Linked DNA regions of Homo sapiens: regions 2, 3, 4 and 5 are each linked to region 1. The links are contacts of gene promoters, found by promoter capture Hi-C in blood cells and fetal thymus (Javierre and others, 2016). All regions are on one chromosome and are shown on one strand. The core of a region is centred on a gene start or on the middle of the fragment in contact, and the rest is flanking DNA. Distances in the headings are between cores, read along the strand shown. Region 1 holds the start of BET1 (Bet1 golgi vesicular membrane trafficking protein). Region 2 overlaps GATAD1 (GATA zinc finger domain containing 1). Region 3 overlaps ASB4 (ankyrin repeat and SOCS box containing 4). Region 4 has its middle 9.2 kb from the start of ASB4. Region 5 holds the start of PON2 (paraoxonase 2).

Region 1 (4,678 bases), core at 1,427-3,926:
TTAACCAATGATACTCTGTGCAAACTGTAGTTTAATAAGGGCCAAGATACTTAAAGAAAGAATGTCTTCTTATTTTGTGTGGCTGAGGTTCTGAGTATATAACATTTACCCAATAAGTAATTACTGACTGGTTGAATTCAAACATTTGACAACTTCACCAAGGAATTCATTATAAATTAACTGCTATTTTTTCTTTCCTTTGTTTAGTTGCTTTTGCCTATCTTAATTTTAATTTTAGAGTTCTTCCATGCTGTTCCATTTATTCAAAGTGAAATTCTTGTTGTATTTATCGTCCAGAAATATATCAATGCACATTCCTATTAAAGAGTTGATCTTCCCTCAAACTATGACCCATCCCAAATACAATGACAAAAGTAAAAACCAAATAAAATGCTAGAATTGCTATTCCAAACAAAGCCACTTCTCTTCTGGTGGTGTACTGCTATGAAAAGTTGTAAAAAAGCTAGTGAGTACTGAAGATCATCCTCAGCCTTTGTTTATTTAGATAAACGCTACTTTTTTGGATAGGTTCTATCAGTAAGCTAACAAAACCATTTAGAGATTCATGTGAAGTGTGGCAGCTTCTGCCTATGGATATGTATCAGATTCACTATGATCCCAAATTTAAAATTTCAGGTCAATATGCATTCATACTTTAAAAAAAAAGAAAAGAAAAAATGTGTAACAAAAGCCTTTGTCACTTCACACCAATGTAAATTATAGCAATAGTAGTTACCTAGGTAATTACTTCTCCTCTCAATCACAGAAGAGCTTTTTTTTAAAAAAAAAAAAAAAAGAAAGAAAAAAAAAGGAAAAAAGGAGAAGGTAGTGGGCTCTAAATTGGAGAAATTCTAATTTTACTGGCTGAGCTGAGGTCCAGGTAACAATACTTTAAAAACTTCCCAAGGGATTCTAATGTACAGTCAGGGCTGAGAACCATTACTCAAGTCACTTTCCTGCAATTTAACATGGCACACTGCAGCAGGAAAATACTCAAAAGGGCCTAGGGGCCTACTGATGAAATCCAAACTCTTTGGCCTCGCATGCAAAGATCTCCACAGTGTGATCCCGAATCCCCTACTTCACCCAAACTGGCTTAATCATAATCCCTTACTTCTTTTGAGTTCCTCCTATCTGGAACTCACTTCCCCCACTCTCCATTATTCAAGGTCTACTTCAAATTCCTATGTCTCCACCAAATACACAAAGATCTTCCCCACAAAGTACACAGTGATCTATCTCTGAAATCTCTGAGACCATCCCTTATATGTAGAACTTATCTGGTATTTGGATGTATAGCGACACTTTGTACTACAATTTATCTTTGCACATATTCCTACTCCCCACCTAGACTGGAAGCTTTGGGGATCACAAACAGGGCAACAAACAACTGTATACCTAGAGCTTACTCAAGCACACAATAAATCTTTTTTGGTATTAAGGATGATGAACAAGAAAAACATTTAGACATATAAAGCTAAACTTGCTCAAAATTATTTCTTTTTTTTTTCTCTTCAATTTACCTGGCCCCATTTTCTATGATCTAAGTATTCATAAAAACTTCATTAAAAAAACAAAAAACTTTCTCATACTACAATTTATTGATCAATAAACAAGTCTACGGTTATTGGCAACTTTCACTGACTTTAAATATCTGACACTTTGGGGATTTTTTTTTTCTTTTTTCAATCTTATAATGACTGAGAAAGGTAATATCTTTTTTCAAATGTTTCATTTATTTTCTGAAGTATACTGCACTCTAATTTAGCGGGGTCTTCTTTAAAAAAAAAATCGTGTCCTAAGAGAAAGCTTCAGAACCAGAAAATGCCGTTCTAGTAGCTGTGCGTTACTATAAGGGTCCATTAAAATTCCTTGTGTCTAACTTATTCTTGCTGATGAGCCAGTTTCCTAACCCCAAAGGTAAAGATCAAATGTTAAGTCGCCAAACCTTAACCACGTTCTACTGCCTTAACCGTGGCACAAGGTTCAGATTAAGAAATCGCCTTTGACCCAGAAGTTCCAGTTCCAGGACCTTTAACAATAATGACACATACATTTACCTTTGTAACTCACTGTTACCAGATTAACGACCATTACTAGCGTGCTTTGGGTGCAACCACCCACTCTTCAAATTCCGCTTCTGAAGAAACTAAGATCCAGGGCCAGTAGGGAAACAGAAACCGGAGTCGGGCTTTGGAAAACATAGCAGCGTCCATAACCACGCTCAGTCAATAACACTAAAACACTCGACCACTGAGATGCCACCTGTACACACCCACCCCTAGTCCACTACTTTCTCTAGCCTACCATCCAAACTTGAATCTGACTCAAACTTAAGGAAATTCCAAAGATCTGGGACAAATGGTGTGTTTCCACTCGACATGGACCCCAAAGATCCCCTCTAGACATCCTGTTTTTTGGACCAAATGCCAGGAACATAAGACAGGTTCGATTTCCTCCCGCGCCCCAGCGCTCCCGGTTCTAGGGCCCCGAACTTCGAACCTCAGCCCTCTTCTTACCCAGGCCTGCACGCCTCATCCTGCCAGAGGAGAGAGAGAAAAGGCGGGTGCGGGGCTTTGGGTGAGTAGGAAACAGCTAGGGGCGACCCGGACCGCGTCTTCAGTACCAGGGCCCAGCGAAACACCAACTTCTTCCCCTAAAGCGCCACGACATCAGTGGAGTCTAAACACCGCGCCGGATGATGGCGTCACCACGGCGCTCATTGGAGCCCTGGGAAGAAGGTTGAAAGGCATTCTGGGAAATGTAGTTCACCAACGCATAACGTGTTGCTGAGGGCGTGATGTGAACCCGGTTCCAGGAGCGGACGGGGCGTCCGGAAAAGGGGGCGGCTTCGACTGCGGCTCTGATTCTGGGTCTCTGATCCAACGTTCCCGCTGTTCCGCTCGCAGCCCGCGGGTCGCTGCTTTCAGTTTGTTGACCACCAAGTTTAACCCAGCAGATCTGCTCCTCCCCACCCACAAGAGGATGGTTGGGGTATCTTTCCTGATTTAGCCTCGAACTCCCTCTCACCTCCAGAGACGATTCAGGGAAAGTTAGAGAAAACTTTGTCCAGGTTTCTCAGTTTACAAACAAGTAATCCGACACCCACAGAAGTAACCGATTTGTGCCTTGTAGTATCCAGTAAAGGAAAGAAAACCAGGTTCCTTTGAGTAGGACTCCTGCTCAGATGAGAGCAGACTAGGAAAGGCTGCGGGATCTGGTCAGAGGCACTGAATAGTTAGTTCCCTGTTACTGCATCTGTTGTACTTCTAGAAAGAACCAAGACTTTTAGTTGTTATGGGGACCAAAGGACCCCTAAACGCTCTCCCACTTTTTTTTTTTTAACTTACACAAAGCTTATTGAAATACTGCTTACACAAGGCAGTGTGCCAATTAGGGGTTTAAAACTTGTTGGCGAGTTGGAGGTGTTACTGGTATCGAGGTTAATCCTAGAATTTCATTTTATCTCAGAGGATTTATCGTGAGAATACGATGAAATCGTGGTTTTTGAAGGGAAAACAAAAAAACCTGATACACAGTAGGTGATCAAAATTCACTGGGTGTCTGCGGTTTTGTTGTTGCTGCTGTATATATGGCAGTGGAATCGTCTCCACACTAGAGATTTCCGAATATGTGATCTTTGATCATTTAGCGTTTCCTCATAGTTTCCCAGGACATTATTAACATTGACTATAATACTGGCATAAGTCTCTGCGTTAAGTTGCTTTTGTAAAAAACACATGAAAACAATTTTTAATAAGAGTTATTAACCTGGGAAGGAGGCTTTATCCAATAGTGTTTTGATAGAAAAAAATCATTAAAATAAAACCGCCATTTTCTAAAAGCAATGAAATTAAATAAGCATAATATCAGGGACAATTATTACAAATAAAAGATGGAGATTCAATAAAAGAAATGATAGCTAGGTATCCCTTTATAACTTAAAATCTGTGACAGTCCTTTGGTTAAAAAAATGCATGTTCTATAATTAAAACGTTTAAAAATTGCCTTACAGAAGGCTTGCTGATGGAAATGTAGAAATCGTTATTTTTGAAAATATGGTAATATTTACTAGAACTAATCATTTAGATTACATAAAATATACTGCTTCCTTTACATGGTAGGAAGACATAAGAATGAAATGTAGTTAAAAGGAAAACATATATAATGTACTAAGAATATAACTGAAGTAAGGCAAAGCTAGTTCATATTGAAGTTGTTACCTAAAAAATCCAATTATTGTTTTTAGCTAACGTTGCTAGTATCAAATTAGGATAATGTCATCTGAAAAAAATTTGCACTCAAAGGAAGAGGCAGGAAAAATGAACTCAATGTGCAGAAAAAGAATTATTAAATGTGACCATAGTTGACATTAGCGATCAGAGGGAATCATTTTCACTTTTCTCGTTGTGCTTTTTCCTTTTTAAATTAAAATCCTTAACTTTTCTTACTGATTGAAAGCAAATAAATTTCACAGAGATGAATAGCATTTAGAACCTCTTCTCTATTCTCACAGGATAGTCTCACAGAAAACATCTAATGTTTGTAGGTCTCTAGGAGATAAAGGACTAAAAATTACTTAAAATAATATTAAGTATTCCTTCTAGTAATTACAAAAGCAAGAATAAAAGCAGGAAATGTCTGAATCGAGGTGCAAAATTGGAACTTTTCTTTCTCC
Region 2 (4,678 bases), core at 1,437-3,936, 1.6 Mb before region 1:
CTCCATGTGGAAGAAGGGAGCGCAGGGGGAGATCCTCTGCCATCATTGCACTGGCCGGGGCGGCGCGGGCAGCGGGGGCGCAGGCTCGGGGGCGGCTGGAGGGACTGGGGGCAGCGGCGGCGGCGGCTTCGGCGCGGCGACCTTCGCCAGCACCTCCGCCACCCCTCCGCAGAGCAACGGGGGCGGGGGCGGCAAGCAGGTGAGCTCCTCCGGCCCCTCCCGCCGGCGGAGGCCGACCAGGTGCTAGGCGGGCGGGGACGGGCTGGCTGGGAGCGGGCGGGCGCGGGCTTCCCCGATCGCCGTGCTCCTGCTGGCTGGAACGCCCCTCCCCACCTCCTACTGAGATCTTTCGTTTGGCCCATTCCGAAGCACCTGTTATTGTAAGAAATTCAAAGCAATAAGAACCAAGATGTAAAGCCCTTAAGAAAATCTCAATATACACATGTCTACACAGTCGTATACAGTGTCATGCCACAAATGCAGGCGCTGGACCTCATTCCTTGTTAAAGGTTTTGTCATATCAGGTTATGAAGTAAGATTATTATGTCATTATTGTAAATGGCAGCTTAAGTATTCCGTTGCAGGGGGCGCCATAACCTACTACGTTCTCTGGCCTTAGGGAGTAAAGTTGTTAAGTGTTTTTCTCTATTGTAGACACAACAAATGAATAGTGTTTGTCTTGGTCAAGACTGACTCCTACTCCCGCCTCCTGCCCTATTACAAGCAGCTCACACCTTTTGGAGGCTCTGGAGACGCCTGTCCAGCGAGCTCCGAGATTCCGGGTGCTGAACTTCCGGTTTTACTTAGCCTAGTTGCTGTAATTACTTCTCTTGAAAAGCAAAAGGGCAATCTTAATTGTTAAATGCTCTTATAAAGTACATACTCTGGGATCCTTGTAAGATGATTGTACTGCAACCTTTATGCACTTTTTACTTCTTTCTCTTTTTGTTCTTTAATTTGTTTGTGTAACAGAGTAAGCAGGAAATTCACAGGAGGTCTGCTCGGCTCAGAAACACTAAATACAAATCTGCTCCGGCTGCTGAAAAGAAAGTCTCCACCAAAGGAAAAGGGAGAAGACATATATTTAAATTGAAAAATGTAAGATATTTGTGGACAGTGCCTTTTACTGTAATGACGTTGTGTGTATCCTGCCACTGCCTTCATTTCTCACCATTGAACTTGGACTCTGCCCTTGGTAGCCCTTCCTTAGTATTCTGGGGAATGGTCCAGATTCCCCAAAAGGGAATGAGCTCTGTTGCAGGAGGCTCACTGTTTATAAAGTTAATAATACTCTTTCCTTTTTGTTTTTTAGCTTTTATTTTTTCCCCTGGAAAATATAAAATATGGGTTTAAAAGAAACATCAACCTTGAGCCCATTTTTTGGGGTTCTCTATGGAAAGGAAGAGGAGAGATTATGGTTCTTGATATGGCCAGGTACACTAAGAAAACTTTTTTTTTTCATTCTTTAAAAATCTAAGTAAATATTAACACTAGAACTCATCATTTGCATATTTATTTGTTATTAAAGCCCCAGAAAATGTATCTTACTGACTTATGATGATGATGTATTTGATGAATATGAGTCAAAAATTTTGCTAAGCCTTATCTCCTCTTCTGCTCTAAGAAAAGAGATTGTTGAAAGACCTGTGCTGGAAGTAGTTGAAAGCATATTTTTATTGCAATTAAATTCTCAGTTTTTATAAACAAGGGATAATGTTCAAACACAGTGGACAGTGCATTATGGACTATTTTTTTAAGTCTCAGTATGATATTCTTTTCTTTCAGAACAGGAATGTTTCACTTACCCGTAAAGACGTTTCTGAAGTTGGCCATATTTATTTCTAAAACACAAAGGGACCCTGCAGTAGACTTATGCAGATGGCAGACTATTTTCTTTTTTTTTTTTTAATTTAATTTAATGAATTTTTTTTAATTTTACTTTAAGTTCTGGGATACATGTGCAGAATGTGCAGGTTTGTTACATAGGTATACGTGCCATGGTGGTTTGCTGCACCTATCAACCCATCATCTAGGTTTTAAGCCCCGCATGCATTAGATATTTGTCCTAATGCTCTCCCTCCCCTTGGCCCCCATCTCCGACAGGCCCCAGTGTGTGATGTTCCCTTCCCCAAAGTATTTTCTTATTCAGACTAGTTGCTTCTAATTTATTTAAGATTTTTATAGTTAAGTGAGGCATTTGTTGATTACACAAAACATGTTATTGATATTTGTATCACATATGCACATTTTTTTCCTTTTAAGTATGGTATACCGTGTTCTCAGCAATTATTTCATTATCGTTTCTCTGCAACCTTTCTTCAATGGTACTAAGCAAGACACATCTGGGGAGGCCTACTTTCTATGTTGTGGCATAAAAGTATGTATTGAAGCTTTAGTAGAGATCTCAAAAATGGTTGGATGGTAGCAAATTACTAAGAACTCTCAAAGTTTCTAAAGCCTTAGTTTCAGCTTGCTAGAAAACCTATGTTGAGTATTATGGCTAGTTCCATAGTTGAGTTGGGAAATGTCTTTGAGGAGACACTTTTTCACTTTGTATTCATCTGTACATTTTCTGTTACTTGCATTCTGTCATGCTCAGGCTATTAGAGCAGGTACATTTTTATAACTGGAATGTTTATGTGTAGTGAAGCTCTGAGAGGACTTTGCATTAGATCTCAGCAGCATAATCAGAAGGTTGTCCTTTGTCTCAGCAATTTTTAAGCTAATAGTAGCAGAAATTGCAGTGGAAATAGACTGCTTTGCCACAACATTCAGAAAATCATTTATCTTTTTATTGCAGTTCTTGTCACCAAACAATACATTTTAGTACTTCTCAAATTGCAGAACTCTCATAGGGCTGGGAAAATGCCTGTAGACACATACATACTATGAATGTGCTAATGTTTTTTGTATTTTCATAGCCCATCAAAGCTCCTGAGTCAGTTTCCACTATAATCACTGCAGAATCAATCTTCTACAAGGTAAGCTTTTGTAGAGTTACTGAAGGAAGAGTTGGGCCTAGTGGGTAATGTGCCACTAAAATGTTGGATTAGTCTAAAGGTCTCTGCTACTCTTTATTTGTATAAGGTGTGATTATACTTTTTGTTCCCTTCTTAGCTGTTTTCCCCCATAAGTGGCTGTTATTAAAACATCTCATCTAGAGCTGAAGTGGGAGGAGAAAGTGCCTACTGACACATGATGTGAGGATCTTAAGTATTTTTTTTTAGTGTAGATTGTAGGAATTATTCTTAAAATGCTGATTGTATAGTGTGGAGCCATGGAAGACTGAGCCGTTAGTGCGATGGCATTGAAGAATGAGAAGGACAGAGACAGGATTTGGACTAGTAGAGGTTGTCGACTGTGGTGTCAAATGGGTAGAGTAGGCCCAGAGATTCTAAAATGCCTTTAAGTGGAGTTGAGCTGAGTAAGGGCAGTAGTGAGGATTAACACCTACTAGAAATTCATAGTGAGAGGAATTCCAAGATGTTTTGATAAAAGAATGAGGAGGTCAGGTTTCCCAGGGCCAAAGTCCATGAACATCTGATACCTCAGTGAGAGAAGTGACAGATTGTTGTGTTTAAACCAGAAGTCTTAGGAAAGGAATTAGAACATAGACCCCCAAGGCTCGGCAGGCCTGGCACGGCACAGGCAGCAACCATTGAAGGCTATTTGGTGTTTCGGGATCTGAACTGTCATTTAGGGGACAGTGGTGTGAGTTAGTACTTTATACTTGACCCAGGTGGACTGAGAAACTCAAGTGATGATGCCCTTAAGTATACTTTTTTTTAAGCCCACAATCTATATAGTCGAAGTCTGTTCCTCCCAACAGGGGTACACTGGCATTCCTCAGCAGGGCTGGGAAAAACCAACAACAAAAAAAGTCTGTACACAGGCAAACATCTCTCTTATTTTTCCAACATTTAATACATTGTTAATAAAATATCTAAAGTTTAGCAAACAGTTGCTGTGTATCAGTGGCTGAGCATTTTGCATGCTTTATTTCATTCAGTTCACTCTATGAGGTGGATACTACTATCCCCATTTTCTAGATGAGAACATTGAGGCACAGCGAGGTTAATTAACTTGTCCAAGATCACATAGCCAACAAGTCATGGAGTGAGGCAGTCTCATGCCAGAGCTTAAGCCTAGAGCATAGTTCCTGGCTCTACAGCTTTAGCAAGTGACTGGCTATGTGACGAGGACCAACCTCTCTAATGTCTCATCTGTAAAATAGGAATTGTAAATAGTTACTACCTCAGTGGGTCAAATGAAATCATATGTGTTAAGCACTTAGCAGAGTAAGCACTCAATGAATAGTAGGAGTTATCACATCTTCGTATTTGTGCATTACCTTCACAGTTTACAGATTAAGGCCAGAAGCAACTTGTTGAGCTACGGGTTTAGTGTACTAACAGTTTCCATGTGTGTCTCCATGGAAGGGTGTGTGGGACCTGTTATTGTGACTGTCTGTACTTTCGTATTGTTGTCTGCCACCCATGTTTATTAAATGATAAGGACAATAATGCAACAAAGTAGTCAAGTAATGTTGCAAATGCCCAGTATTGTAGTGGCTATCACAGCAGTGCCACTGGCAGGCAGCACCATGGTGGCAAGTTCAAGAGGTCACTGCCAGCCACTGAGCTAGAGCCCAGATCAGGCATGCAAGAGGAGCCTGAGT
Region 3 (4,678 bases), core at 1,466-3,965, 1.5 Mb after region 1:
GTCCTCTCCCCCTCTACATCTACAGACAACCACTGATGTTTTCTGTCCCTATAATTTTGCCTGTTTTCAGAATGTCATATACATTAAAATATAAAATATGTAGGCTTCTGAGTCTGGTTTCTCTCACTTAGCATAATACATTTGAGATCCATCCATATGGTTGCATGGACCAATAAATTAGACCTTTTTATTGCTGAGTAGTATTCCATTGTATACACATAACAAAATTGATCTACCCCCCAGTAGAGGGACATTTGGAATGTCCTTAGGTTTTGTCAGTTTTCAAAGAAAGGCTGATATAAACATTTGCATACAGGTTTTTATGTGGACTTTTTATTTCTCTTATATAAATACCTAGGAGTGGGATGATGGCTATGTGGTAAATTTATAAGAAACTGCAACACTGTTTTCCAAAGTAGTTCTGTCATTTCGTATTTCTATCAGCAATGTATGAGAATTCCAGTTGCTTGGCAGAACTTGATAATGTGAGATAAAAAAAATTAGGCTGGGCACGGTGGCTCACACCTATAATATCAGTATTTTGGGAGGCCAAGGTGGGAGAACTGCTTGGGTCTAGGAGTTTGAGTTCAGCGTGGGCAACATCAGTTTGCAATCATTACAAACATATTAGAATAGCTAACATATTGGCTAACATTCTAAATGTCCCTCTACTGGGGGGTAGATCATTAGAATGTTAGCCATTCTAAATATGTTTGTAATGGTATCTCATTGTTTTAATTTGAATTTCTCTGATGACTAAGGATGTTGAACATGTTTTCATGTATTGATTTGCCATCTGTATATTATTTACTTTGGTGAAATGTCTGTAACTTTTACTCCTTTAAAGAAATGGGTTGCCTGTATTCTTATTGATTTGAGAGAGTTCTTGATATATATTCCGAATACTAGTCATTTATCAGATACATAGTTTGCACGTATTTCTCTTCATTCTGTGGCTTTTCTTTTCATTTTCCTAACAGTATCTTTCAAAGAGAAGAAGTATTTAGTTCTGATAAATTCAATTTACCAATTTTTTTCCTCCTAGCAAAAAATTTGTTTCATATGTTTATTTCTAGAGGTTTTGTCATTTCAGATTTTACTTTTAGGTGTAGGATTCATTTTGAGTTAATTTTTTTATATGGTATAAGTTATGGGTTAGGTTCGTCTTTTTTTATATGGATGCCCAGTTGTTTCAACACCATTTGTTGAAAAGAATATTCTTTCACCATCAAACTGCCTTAGTATTTTTGTCAAAAATCAATTGGCAATATATGTATGGGTTTATTTCTGGACTCCAGCCTATTCCATTGACCTATATATCTTTTTATTTTTTTCCCTAATGCTCCACTGACTTGATTGCCACAGGTTTGTATCAAGTCTTGAAATCAGATAGAGTGAGTCCTCCTAGATCAGTTTTAAGTATGAGAGTTTTCATATCTCTTTGAAACTTCAGTGAAAATGTCAAGGATGCACTTTATATAAAAGTATAGATTTCAGAACAGAGCCCTGGACTAAAGGTATAATTTCAGAATTGTTGGCCTATAGATTGTATTTGAAGTCAAGGAAATCAATGGAATCGCCTGGATAAAGAGTATATATAGAGAAAAGTGAATCTATGAAAAAGCCCCAATGAATTCTAACATTTCAATGTTAGAAGGATGAGGAGAAACCAGTAAAGGAGAGTAAGATATACTGATAAGTAAAATTGGAGAAAACCAAGAGTATTTTGGCAACACAAGGACAAAGAAAGAGGTAGTAGGTTCCAGAAGCAGAGAGTGGCCAGCTATAGTGATAGCTACCCAGGGTTAATTAGATGTTCATTAGATTAGGTGACAGAGTTATCACTGACAAAAATAGTTTTGGTGAAACAGTGTTAAAAGCCAGATTTGAATGGTATAAAGTGCAAATGGGTGGTAAGAAACCAGAGATGCCACAGGTAAACAATTGGTAAAAAGAAGTGAGGCTGCAGAAGTGAACATAAGAAGAGCATGATTGCTGGAGGGGGCTGGAGGGAGGTCACAGGCAAGACTTACCTACAGTTGGAGATCAAAGAAAAAGCTTGTGTGCTAAAGGAAATGATTCATAGAAAGAAAACAGCTGAAGATGCACGAGACAGGATAACTGAAAGTCCTTCAGAAGTTGAGATGAGATTAAATCCAGAGACTACGGGATACATCCTCTTTTTTTTTTTTTTTTTTTTTTTTTTGAGACGGAGTCTCGCTTTGTCGCCTGGGCTGGAGTGCAGTGGTGCGATCTCGGCTCACTGCAAGCTCTGCCTCCCGGGTTCACGCCATTCTCCTGCCTCAGCCTCCCAAGTAGCTGGGAGCATCCTCATTTTTAAGAAGCGGGACAAAGTAAAAGATGGTTTTAAATGCCAGAATATTTATAGATTTGATGGTGCTACGATGAGGGAGTTCGGATGGTTTTTCCCCTCAACAATGTGTCAAAGTCACCAGCCAAAAAATGAGAGGAGAGCAGAAAGCATAGACATTTTCATAAGAATGGAGAAGGAATGGGAGGTTCGGGAGAAAAAAAATGGGAGAAGAAACTTACTAGAGAAATGTAGTAGGATTACTGGACTTATAAAAGATGCCATGTGGCTAGGAGCCGTGGCTTATGCTTGTAATCCCAGAACTTTGGGGAGGCTGAGGCAGGAGGACCTTTTGAGGCCAGGAGTTTGAGATCAGACTGGGCAACATAGTGAGACCACATCTTTACTAAAGGAAAAATAAATTAACCAGGCATGGTGGTGCATCTGTATTCCTAGCTACTCGAAAGGCTGAGGCAGGAGAATTGCTTGAGCTCACGAGTTTGAGGCTGGCTGCTGTGAGCTATTATTGGACCACTGCACACCAGCCTGTGTGACAGAGCAAGATCTGTCTCAAAAAAAAAAAAAAAAAAAAAAAAAAAAGCCATGATCTTTTCAACCTGCGGAAATGAAGGGGAAGAAAAAATTCAGCCCAGCATATTCTCCTTCTTCTTTGGTTCACTTGTTAAAAATGAGGCTGTATCCCATATTCTCTGGATTTCATCTCATCTCAACTTCTGAAAGACTGGAACCTTTCAGTTATCCTGTCTCATACATCTTCAACTGTTATTTCTATGAATCACTTACTTTGGCACACAAGGTTTTCCTCTGATCTCCAACTGTAGATAATAGTGACCTGTGACCTCCCTCCAGCAATTGTGCTCTTCTTCGCTTTTGCAGCCTCCCACTTAGGAAGGAAGCTACAGGGACAAGGTTAGGCATAATTTGGAGCTTACTCACATTTTCTATGTGTAGCCATCACCACTCTTCACATTTACTCATTCATTTATGTTTAGATTTAGTTTTTATCTTTATTGATTTTTAAATTTAATTAGTTTAAACATGCAAGCTTTTTATTTTTAAGAGTTTAAGGAATTTTAGAAATTATATATTAATTTAATCATTAACTTTCTAATTAAAACATTTTTTGTCTCACTTTTCGTAATAATGAAATGAAAATGAAAGCTGCCCACTTTACTCTGCATGAAGCAAATCCTGACAGTAGGAGGAAAATTTGTTACTGCAGGAAAGCCATAAAAATTCAAATGTTTCTTAGCAGAATGTAGCATGGGGGCAATGTAAAGGGGGCCATGCCTTTTAAAAGACTGTTCCCTGCTACTTTATCTGACAGTGACACAAGTCAACCACATGTTAGGAAATTCCCTGGTCAATGAAGTGGAACATGGTAAGGCAAGATGTCACTGGCCTTCATTTTAATCCGAAATAGATAGGCCTGCTGGACAGACGCTGCTCTTACCACCTCACCGCATTCCATCTTTTCATCTTAATCATAAATAAGAACACTTAAGATCTACTTTCAACAAATTTCCAGTAAACAATGCAGTGTTACTAACTATAGTCATCCTGCTATACATTAGATCTTCAGAACTTATTCATCATCCGGTGTAACTGAAACTTTGTTAACTTTTTACATTGTGGCCTTTTCATGTGACTTCATCAACCACAAACTGACAGAGTGGCCAACCTTTCACTCCCTAGAGGTGTCACCTTTCCCAGCCGGTACAGTTATTCCCCATCTCTTTTGTTCTTGTCAACAGAGGGAGACTACCTAGAGATGAGAAGGAAGAAAGAGGTAGGGGGAAGCTTGGGCAATGCTTGTAGGCTGACACTAATGAATTAGGCTTATAAGAATCAAGGAGAGAGAATAGAAGTCCATTAAAGATCCACTTACTCTTTCAAGCCATGTCATCAAAGGCCGAATTCACAAAGAAAATAGAGATAAATTAGAGAAAGCAAAAATGTTCAACTTCAGAAGGGCAAACACCATAAAATTAAAAGGCAATCATAAAACTGGGGAAAATATTTGAGACTATATGACAAAGGGCTTACTATACGCAGAAGTTTTTCAATTAAAGTAATGAGGCTAACAACTAAAAAAAAAAGAGAGAGAAAGAGGTAAAAAAAGAAAAAGAACAAAACGACCAAGAACAGGAATATTTAAGGGAAAAAAAAGAAAAATCATATAAACAGCAAATAAATATATGACATAATGATAGCCTTCATTGGTAATCAGTAACATGTCAATTAAAATGACAATTAGCTATTTTGTTGTTGTTTGTTACGTTAATAAGCATACAAAAGATAATACATATATGACAAACACATAGGGAAGTGCTCTTACACACGCTT
Region 4 (4,678 bases), core at 1,483-3,982, 1.5 Mb after region 1:
TTTTAAGTTATTCCAGACCCTGACAACTGGACACCTGGTTATGATTGCAGAATGTGCAGTTTAAAATCCTATTTTAAAACTTAGTTTTTGTTTTTCTTTTTGAGACAGGGTCTCATTCTGTCATCCAGGCTGGAGTGCAGTGGTGCAATCACGGCTCACTGCAGCCTTAACCTCCTGGGCTCAAGCAATCCTTCTACCTCAGCCTCGTGAGTAGCTGAAACTACGGGCACATGCCACCATGCCAGGCTAATTTAAAAAAAAATTTTTTTTAGAGATGGGTGTCACCATGTTGTCTAGGCTGGTCATGAACTCTTGGGGCTCAAGCAGTCCTGCCTCAGCTTTCCAAAGTGCTGGAATTATGGCATGAGCCACCATGCCTCATCTAAAAATTAGTTTTTATATCATTATGCATACCATGTTTTCAACAGTAAAATGGTTTTACCCCAAATAGGCATGTAGTTAAGGTAAAAATTATCTGATGTTACTGATCATTGAGATTTAGAAACAGTAATTAAGGAGGAGGGATTCAGGAGATACTTTTGCAATATGATCCTTAGGATGAGGTGGCTTTCTATACCCTGGCAAATGTTCTGTAGAGCCTATAGACAAGCTGTTTTTTATGTATAGTGCCTAGACCAGCAACACTGGCATTTAACAAGAACTCAGATCTCACTCATACTCTGTCAGGTGTGACCCAGCAGTCTGTGTTGTAACAAGCCCACCAGAGGACTCTGAAGTACCGAAAAATTTGAGAAGTGCTGTCATAATCCAGGCTGTCAATAGAATAGGTAGGGTCATATACTATACACTCACTACACTATAGCCAATGACCATCTTTCCTTACATAGTCCCTCCCCACGCCCACCTGGATGTAGAATTTAGAAGTAAAATCACAACCTAGAATATTGGCAGTGGTCAGTGACTCCCCATTGCAGGTTGAATTTAATTAATTAATTATTTTTTGAGATGGAGACTGGCTTTGTCACCCAGGCTGGAGTGCAGTGGCTCAATCTTGGCTCACTGCAACCTCCACTTCCCAGGTTCAAGCAATTCTCCTGCCTCAGCCTCCCGAGTAGCTGGGACTACAGGTGCGTGCCACCACACCTGGCTAAGTTTTGTATTTTTAGTAGAGATGGGGTTTCACCATGTTGGCCAGGCTGGTCTCAAACTCCTGACCTCAGGTGATCCACCCACCTCAGCTTCCCAAAGTGCTGAGATTACAGGCATGAGCCACCGTGCCCGGCCTTGAATTTATTTAATAGCTAAATTGCTCTACTTGCATTCAAGGTCTTCTGTCTTTATAAAACCAAATCATGTATTCCAGTGTCATCTTCTATTTTTCCTGCTCATATTCTTTATCTTTTAGTAAAATTAGATGGCCATTCTCTCCCCCATCTCTAATCCTTGCCATGAGCTGGCAAGGTTGTGAAGAATCTTTACTTAGTTAAGATTTATGGGGTGCCTTCCTAAATGGCATCACAGTGTAAACAAAGAAATCAAATCACCTGAACTTTTCGGTCTCTATATATCAAGATCCCAAGATCCTATTTCAAATACCATTTCCTCTGTGAAATCTTTCTTGATTCCTCAAACCGAATGGTGTGATCTTTCCTTTTTATAATGCCAGCTCCCTGTGTTTCGTATTTCTGGCACAGTAGATTCTGGTCTGCCTTATTGTATAACCAGTATGGTCTAATTTCATTCGTCTATAAGTTCTTGAGATTGGGGCTGAATCCTACACATCTGTCGGTCCCTACTACACCTATCACAGTGTCAGACACCTAATAATAACTCAGTCAATAGTGTTCAAATTGTGGTATGCAGCGGCAAGGCTTCCAGCCCAGCCCAGAGTCATCGGATAGCTTTCAGCCAAGGCTGTTAGCTGTGTGAGGTAGGTGCGTATTGCATGCTTGTCCCAAAATATTCTCTTGCAGGTGACTGACATTCTTTTTTATATTTAAAAAAAAATTTATAGAAAGCTCACAGCCCATGTTTAAAATACAAAATTCACCTATGAGAAATCAAGAAATGGAAGGAAGATCTAGAGGACAAGCCTAGCTCTTTTACCCCCTGGAGCAATCAAGGGGCAGCTACAGACACTAGAAAAGACCAGGGCTGGGAAACGGGAACAATATCTTTGATTTCACAGTCTTGCCTGGGGCCTTGACTGACAGTAGCTGCTGCTTTAACCTCCATCTGTGGCTTCACGCCTTTTTAGAAAGGACTCAGGAAATCACACTCTGGTCTTATAGGGAATATTTTCAGCCTAGGAGAAAAATTGTGAGCATGAGAAGCAAGCTTGTCTTGCTTTCCCACACCCAAAGACAGAGACTCATAAGACAACGGTCTGTAAAGAATCTGGAGACACATGGTATGAAACATTTTTAGCTTATTATTTTGAATGTTCTTCTTAATACCATTGTAGCAAAAACAAACAATAAAGGGACAACCCACTCCTCCTCCAAACAATGTTTAATTTATGTATTTGTTAGATACATATTGAAATTTATTTTATGAAATCATAAACCAATAGCAAATTCTCAGTAGAGAAATTCATTGTAGGAAAATATGATCAGGAAAGATATGGTTTACGTGGATTAAAACAAAATTTTTAAAATCCATATTTGTGGTTTAACCTGGATCACGTTTTATCCGCATTGGCTTGGATTTTTTTTTTTTCCCCAGGATACTGCAGCTGTTCTTCCGGGTTCATTTATCGAGGAACACTGCCATCATGTGGCCTGACGTGTTAACACAGTCCCTAAAAGACAACTAGCAGCACGGTTTTAATTTTGATTCTCTCTCTAGAAAAACGTTTGTGGCTTTAAAATGTGCTTCGTTATTTGAAGCTGTGTTTGTTAATACCTTTCTGAAATGGCATCCTTAAAATATTTGCCAAAGGGTCAACTCTACGTCACCTTTTGAATTTCTCAAGTATATAGTTATCACATCAAAAAATATATAAAATAATAATTGAACATTGCTCATTTTATAAATTTGTCAAGTTTTCACAAATTTATCTACTGTAAAAAGAGTGGAATGCTTTGCTTATATACACTAGTGTGGCTGCTTATTTTTTCTTTACACTATCAGTTTAGGGAGAGGAGATGCAAAACTATAGAAAACTACAGAAAGGCAGCGTTGTGTAGTTCAAAAACTAAAGTATGAAGCTTGACATTAGGTTGGAGACTTCGCTTTGCGACTAATTAATTATGCAATTTTGTGCAAACATGTAAGTGAGATGGCCTCAGTACTTTTTTTCTTAAATGAGAAGATTTGATACCCTTAACAAGAACCTTTTTTTTTTTTTTTGCTATAATTCTGTGATTCTACAAGCAAAATTAAGTTCTTTTAAAAAGCAAGAGTGTTGTTTCTCTTTAGGTATACTATTTTTCTATGGTTTTCTGAAAATATGTGCCCCCTTTCTCTCCACTCCTCTTTCCCATTCCTAACTGCAGCTTTGTCTGCAAATTTGTTGTGCAATTTTTTTTTTCCTGCAATATCCCATAGTTTTGGTGTTGTGTTGAGGATTGCTCCTTCATGAATTAGATACTTCCATAGTATAAAATAAAACTGATGAATCTTTGCAATTGGTAAACAACTTATTGGCTTCTGACAACTGTGGGTGTAAAAAGAACGTTACAGAGGACAGTCCAATTTCTTTACCCCTTAAAAGGGAAGGATAATTTTTTTTTCTTACTGCACCTCTGCATCATAAATTTGTCAAAAGTAAAAAGAGGATGCAAATGCTGCCTGGAGTACAATTGTGAGGTAAATGTTCTGAAGAGACAAAATTATGGTAAATTATTCCCTCGAGTTGATGTTGTGAAGTGTGTAACTGGGTGAGGGATGGAAATACAAGCTGGTGTTGATGTTTAAACTGTGCTGGACGGCGTGTAAATGCAGGTCAGTTGCTAGGAGACCTGGAACACAGAGCTAATGCCCCCTCTGTGGGGCAGGGATGTTTGATCTGAAAAAACCTTGTCTTTCACAGTCAAAGATGACGTGAAATGAATAGTCTGTCAAAATTCAGGTGGGCCAGTGCTTGGTTACTGCTTATGTCAATCCAGCCATTCTGACATCCACCACCTGTAAAGAGAGTCGCTGAAACGGAACAATCTAGCATCGTGCCAGCGACCAAGATTCTCCGGAAACACTCAGGGTAATTAGCTACGAATTCTTTAAATACTCTTACATGAAAGGCAGCTGGTTTGTTCGCTGATATGGGATCCAAGAAGTGGGCAGTAGCGGCTAAATAATTACTTCAGCATTCCAAAGAGAGGGATGCCAGGCCACAAATAGAGTTCCAAGCGAAGATGTGCTTGCGTAGGACTTTGGACCCTCCCGTTTACAAAGCAATCATTTCTGCCATTTGTGAGGATTGTTGAACAGATTTTATGTTAAACACACATGCTCCCAGTATGTAATTACAATTGAGAATGAATACGCCGAACTTTAGCGCTGAAGCATCTTAGCAGTTCTTCCAGCGCCCCCAACTGCTTGAAGACAGAACCTGAATCAGTCTGTGGACAAGGGCAGCCCATAACATGGCTGCCACAGGGAAGACTTTCAAAAAATCTCAGCAAGGTCTTCTGCCCTTGCAAAATGGTATTAATCTTTGCCAATGTCCAGGACACTGTGTTCCATAAGGGAGAAAAAAGCCCTAAAGGCTGAGGAG
Region 5 (4,678 bases), core at 1,123-3,622, 1.4 Mb after region 1:
CTTTGAAATGGAGAGCAGGACAGATCATATACAAAGTCATCCAACTCATGAATGTTCTGTAGAGCACAATGGGCATTACCTAACATGAAAATTAAGGTCAACATGTCCATTTCCTACCCATAAGCGTTCTTTCCTCAAATCTCACTCCCATCTCAGCCACCACACGCTTCCTCTTTGCACTGCTTTATCAGTAGATGAAACTACAACCATGGGACAGTGGAGCTGTGGCACAAACTCTGGTAGCACCTTTGACTTCTCCCTCATCCCTGGGGTTCCAGAGTTTGGGTCCCTGTTATCCTCTCTGACCTACTGCAATACCTTAACCAGTTACCCCATGTCTGCTCTCTATTCTAGTAGTTCTCGACCTTGACTGCTCATTAGAATTATCAGGAATGTTTTTAAAAATAAAAAATGCCACTGCTACTGTCAGCCACTGTTCTTACATTATGCACTTCCTTATTTATCTATTTACCTGGGAACCCTGAAGCCAGCTTGCCAAACAATACATTATTCCATATCACATTTTAATTATAACGAAAAATCTCTGGTAGGTAGACACCATAGTTTATAAATTACCAACTCAAATTTTGTTTTTTATTTATTTATTTATTTATTTATTCATTTTGTAGAGGTGGGATCTTGCTATGTTGCCCAGGCCTGTCACTAACTCCTGGGCTCAAGCAATCTTCTGGCTTAGGCCTCCAACAGTGCTGGGATTACAGGTGTGAGCTGTAGATTCTGATCCAGAACAGCTGAATCAGAATCTTTGGTGGTGCCACTCAGACACCAGCCCTCCAGGAGATTCTAATGTACAGAGAACCATTGCTCTCCTCCAATCCCCCCTTCCAGGCTTATCTCTATAAAACACAACTAGTTATATTAAGTTCTTGTTGAAAAGCAAAACCCACCAATATTTCCCTTTTGAAGCACTATTGGGCCTATGAAAGTGGGGCCCCATTTTTCAACTTATATTTAATGGCCTCAAAACCTATCCTTCCCACCACCCTACTATTCTCATCTCCTGACTTTATGCTCCCTTCAAATTGGCCCATTTGCTAGTCTTCCAACTTCCCACCTTAGCCCCTTTGCTCCTGCTGCACTATACATTTGGCATGGGCCCCTTCATGCTCATATGTGTTGCACCCACCCTTCAAGGTCAGGTCGAATGTCTCTTCCTCCCTCTAGAACTCCACCCTCAGGGGATGGAATCTTTCCTCTTTAAGCCTATGCGGTTCATTTGTGTCTGTCCTTAGAACATCCTAATTTATACATTTACTGTATTTTAATTCTCTCTTCCCCTGTATCAAACTCCATAAGGGTCGTACTCTACTATAGAAGCCTAAGAGAGAACATTACACATAGCAGGTGCTCAGTCTTTCTGGAACTCTTTTGCATGAGGCCTATAAAATTTTGGTTGAGGCAGGGCAGAACAGCTCACACCTGTAATCCCAGCACTGTGGGGAGGCCTAGGCTGGAGGATTGCTTGAGTGCAAGAGTTAGGGAACAGCCTGGGCAATACAGCAAGACCCCATCTCTACAAAAAATAAAATAAACAAAAAACAAACGTTGAGTTGGTAATTTATAAACGATGATGTCTACCTACCAGAGATTTTCATTAAAACTAAAATGCGAGATGGAATAGTGTCTGCGCTGTCTGGCATTCTGGCTTCAGGCTTCCCTGGTGAATAAATAGGAAGTAAGAACAGTAGCTGAATATTTCAAGTGTCTTTGATCTACAGCTGAAGAGTTTCTCAAACTATGCAGAAATGGGTGGAGAACAACTTTATTAAAGACGGGTCTGGTTTGGGCAACAAGGAGAAACAGCACCAATGACCTGAAATAAATCTTCATAGTTAAGGTTTCAATGCATGAGTAGTCATTTTGTTTTCAATTTAAACCACTAGTTTGGCCCTTGGGTAATTGCAAAGCATTCTCTTGTCAGCCTAAGCAGAAGAGAACTTTGTTAGCAGCAAGGGCTTATAAACTTTCAAGAAAGTGTCGCGATTCACTCCAAACTTTGCTAGTTTTTTCACTAGAAGCGGAGAGTCGGGGTGATGGGGGTTCAACTAGCTGGGGGAGGGACAGCATTCAAAAATTCTCCACCCCCGGCCGCAGGGCCAGGTCCCGCAGGAATCCCTCCCCCAGCCTGCGCCCTCCCCGCACCACGCGGCCACCCCGAGCCTGGGGACCGCCGAGGAGGGGCGCGCGGGAGTCCCACCTACCTGAGTGCCAGAAGCCTCTCGCCCAGGAGCGCCAGCGCGATCCCCAGCAAGCCCACAGCCACCAGCCGCCCCATGGCGCGGGAGCCGGGCGCGCTGCCTCGCTCCGGCCTGGCCAGCAGCTCCGTGGGCGGTGCCATCTTCCCGGCTCGATGGTGCCGGCCGCGCTCCGCCCCGTCCTCCGCCTAGGCCGAGTCCCTGCGTCGGGGCCGCGGAGGCTCCGCCCTGGGCCTGGCCCTGGTCTTTGTCCTCACAAACCTATTTCCCCAGATACCTTCGGGACGGCCCGGACACGCCTTACATTAGGCTCATGATGTGAAACTTTGAATTCCTTCACTTCCTTTTTCAAACAACCCACCCGAAACCCTCTAGCAGCCCGCATACCTTTCTCGTTTCCCTAGTCTTCAAACACATTTCTCACTCGCTATTCCAGTGAGAAACTTACATAGAAAGCAGCTTTTGGGGATGGGGGTCGGTGGCCAAGGGAGGGAAAGTAACGGGATGCGTCGTGTAAATATTTCACGTTGGAATCACTACTTTTTATAACAGGACGTAGTTGCGAATAAATAAACATCCTGTGCCTCGTAATACTTTTTTTTTTTTTTTTTAACAGGGTCTCGCTGTGTTGCCTAGGCTGGAGTACATTGGCACAATCATAGCTCACTGCAGTCTGGACCTCCCGGACTCAAGGGACCCTCCAGCCTCAGCCTCCTGAGTAGCTGGGACCGCAGGCACGTACCGTTACACCTAGCTAAGTGTGTGTAAGTTGTGTGTGTGTCTGTGTGTGTGTGTGTGGAGACCGAGTCTTGCTGTGTTGCCCAGGTTGGTCTCAAACTCCTGGACTCAAGCCATCCTCCTGCCTCAGCCTCCCAAAGTGCTAGAATTACAGGAATGAGCCACCATGCCCAGCCTCTATTAATACTTCCAGACTACAGACTTAAGGACTTAGACACGTCTTTTTCATCCAAACTCAAAGGGAAGAAGTGTAGTTTTTTTCTTTTCCGTTTTTACTCTAACAACCGTAACATGAAGGAATAATTTAAAATACAATTTTAAAAGTAAAATGAAATTTACCCATCAAGATTGATACCATTACAATAAATGAGTACATCTGAAATAAGCTTCTAATGGTTTTCGGTATTTAATTGCCACCCTACAATATGTAGGCAGAAATGGTCACACTTGACAATTTTCAACAAATATCAGTTTTATAAAGAACCAGTAAATAAAAGTGGATGCCAATTTCCCACCTGCCTCTCACCAAAAAAAAAAAAAAAAAAAAAAAGCACAAACACCTCTCTCCCTGTGTGTGTGTGTATCTCTGCTTCAGTCCTAAGGATATTGGATTATACTGGATGGTAGAAAGAGAAGTAAAAAGTTGTCCTTTGAAAGCCCATGAGGCATTACCTTTTTTGTGTCGTGGACCCTTCTGGCAGTGGTGAGCCTGTGGATAACTTCTTAGAATAATGTTTATAAATGCTTACAATAAAATGCATAAATTTTCTCTGTGCGGTTCATGAAAAAAAGAAAGAAGAAAAAAAAATTTTAAATAAATGAATAAAATGTATAGATTGCAAAGAAAATCAATTACATTGTAAGGAAAAAAAATAGCTGAGAGCAGTCTGAGCTTTGTGAGGTATGCAAAATTTATCAGGCCCAGAGCGACATGAGTATGGGACTTCAGTCACGCCCCAATACCCATGCCTGGGGACAGTTGTTTAAAGACATTTTGTTCCCGAGTAGCTGTCCCACCCATTATCTTCATATTCCTGGAATTTATGATACAAAGAACAAAGTATAACCAATCCACAGCTTATGTTATTTTAACGCAAGGAATTTAGGAACTGCCTCTTCCTTCCCCTTAAAAATCTATGTGTAACTGCTGCTAATCAGAGTGTATATTTAGGGAAACTTGAATCTATACTCCTGGGTTGCAGTACTCAAACTTGGCCCAAATAAACTCTCTACTTACATTAATTTTGCCTTAGCTTTAAAATTAAAGGTCAACAATTGAAATGTAATTGTTAAAATATCTAAAACATAATTTTTTGCTATAGTAATGTGGTAATGTAATGTGTGCAACATTATTTAACATATTAAATAACAAGATCTAGCAACATTCTTTTAAATAAAGAGGAGTGCAAATGTTCTTTCATGATACTGAAAACAACTATAATGAAATAATGAAAATAACTGTTATTTCCATTAGTAACAGTCACAAGTACTGCAAATGCTTCTGAGGTTTGTCTGCTAGTTTTGTAATTGAAGAAAATGCTAAATTCCATTTGAAATCAAGATTTTTTTTTTCTTATCCAAGGTCATTAATTCCTCTGAACTATCAATGGACCACTGGGTTAAGAACTCTGACATAGGCTAAGGCTATGACTGTTTAGAGAAGGGTGGAATCTCCTTTCTAGGACTATTTTTGGTGTCAATTATTGAGGAAGAGAAGAGCCTCA

Evidence for each region. The method cuts DNA at HindIII sites, captures the fragments that hold promoters and counts their contacts. A CHiCAGO score of 5 or more calls a contact.
Region 2: a contact is called between a fragment that was not itself captured here and the fragment with the promoter of BET1 in region 1, in 1 of 17 cell types (non-activated CD4 T cells). The highest score is 6.9, in non-activated CD4 T cells.
Region 3: a fragment that was not itself captured here is called in contact with the fragment with the promoter of BET1 in region 1 in 1 of 17 cell types (fetal thymus); the score reaches 7.1 in fetal thymus.
Region 4: a contact is called between a fragment that was not itself captured here and the fragment with the promoter of BET1 in region 1, in 1 of 17 cell types (fetal thymus). The highest score is 5.8, in fetal thymus.
Region 5: a contact is called between the fragment with the promoter of PON2 here and the fragment with the promoter of BET1 in region 1, in 3 of 17 cell types (naive CD8 T cells, erythroblasts and total CD8 T cells). The highest score is 7.2, in naive CD8 T cells.

What each region holds. Positions count from the first base shown.
Region 1 is chr7:94,001,679-94,006,356 of GRCh38, forward strand. It overlaps BET1 (Bet1 golgi vesicular membrane trafficking protein), which reads right to left and starts at 2,677. Exons shown (of 4, transcript NM_005868.6): 1 at 2,520-2,677. The coding sequence starts at 2,538. RefSeq lists enhancers at 1,887-2,493, 2,494-3,099, 2,554-2,603, 2,614-3,243. The HindIII fragment of the contact is 1,547 bases long and covers 1,808-3,354 here.
Region 2 is chr7:92,447,780-92,452,457 of GRCh38, forward strand. GATAD1 (GATA zinc finger domain containing 1) reads left to right here. Exons shown (of 5, transcript NM_021167.5): 1 at 1-199; 2 at 973-1,098; 3 at 2,922-2,981. Among named protein-coding and RNA genes, the nearest start is that of GATAD1, 2.6 kb to the left of the region's middle. RefSeq lists a silencer at 1-392 and an enhancer at 823-872. The HindIII fragment of the contact is 596 bases long and covers 2,389-2,984 here.
Region 3 is chr7:95,497,686-95,502,363 of GRCh38, forward strand. The region is part of intron 2 of ASB4 (ankyrin repeat and SOCS box containing 4); the gene reads left to right. Among named protein-coding and RNA genes, the nearest start is that of ASB4, 14 kb to the left of the region's middle. RefSeq lists a silencer at 3,072-3,366 and an enhancer at 3,665-3,714. The HindIII fragment of the contact is 1,319 bases long and covers 2,057-3,375 here.
Region 4 is chr7:95,474,439-95,479,116 of GRCh38, forward strand. It overlaps a transcript of ASB4 not described here. Among named protein-coding and RNA genes, the nearest start is that of ASB4, 9.2 kb to the right of the region's middle. The HindIII fragment of the contact is 872 bases long and covers 2,297-3,168 here.
Region 5 is chr7:95,432,656-95,437,333 of GRCh38, forward strand. PON2 (paraoxonase 2) reads right to left here and starts at 2,373. Exons shown (of 9, transcript NM_000305.3): 1 at 2,223-2,373. The coding sequence starts at 2,296. RefSeq lists a silencer at 2,056-2,485 and an enhancer at 2,160-2,730. The HindIII fragment of the contact is 3,363 bases long and covers 1-3,338 here.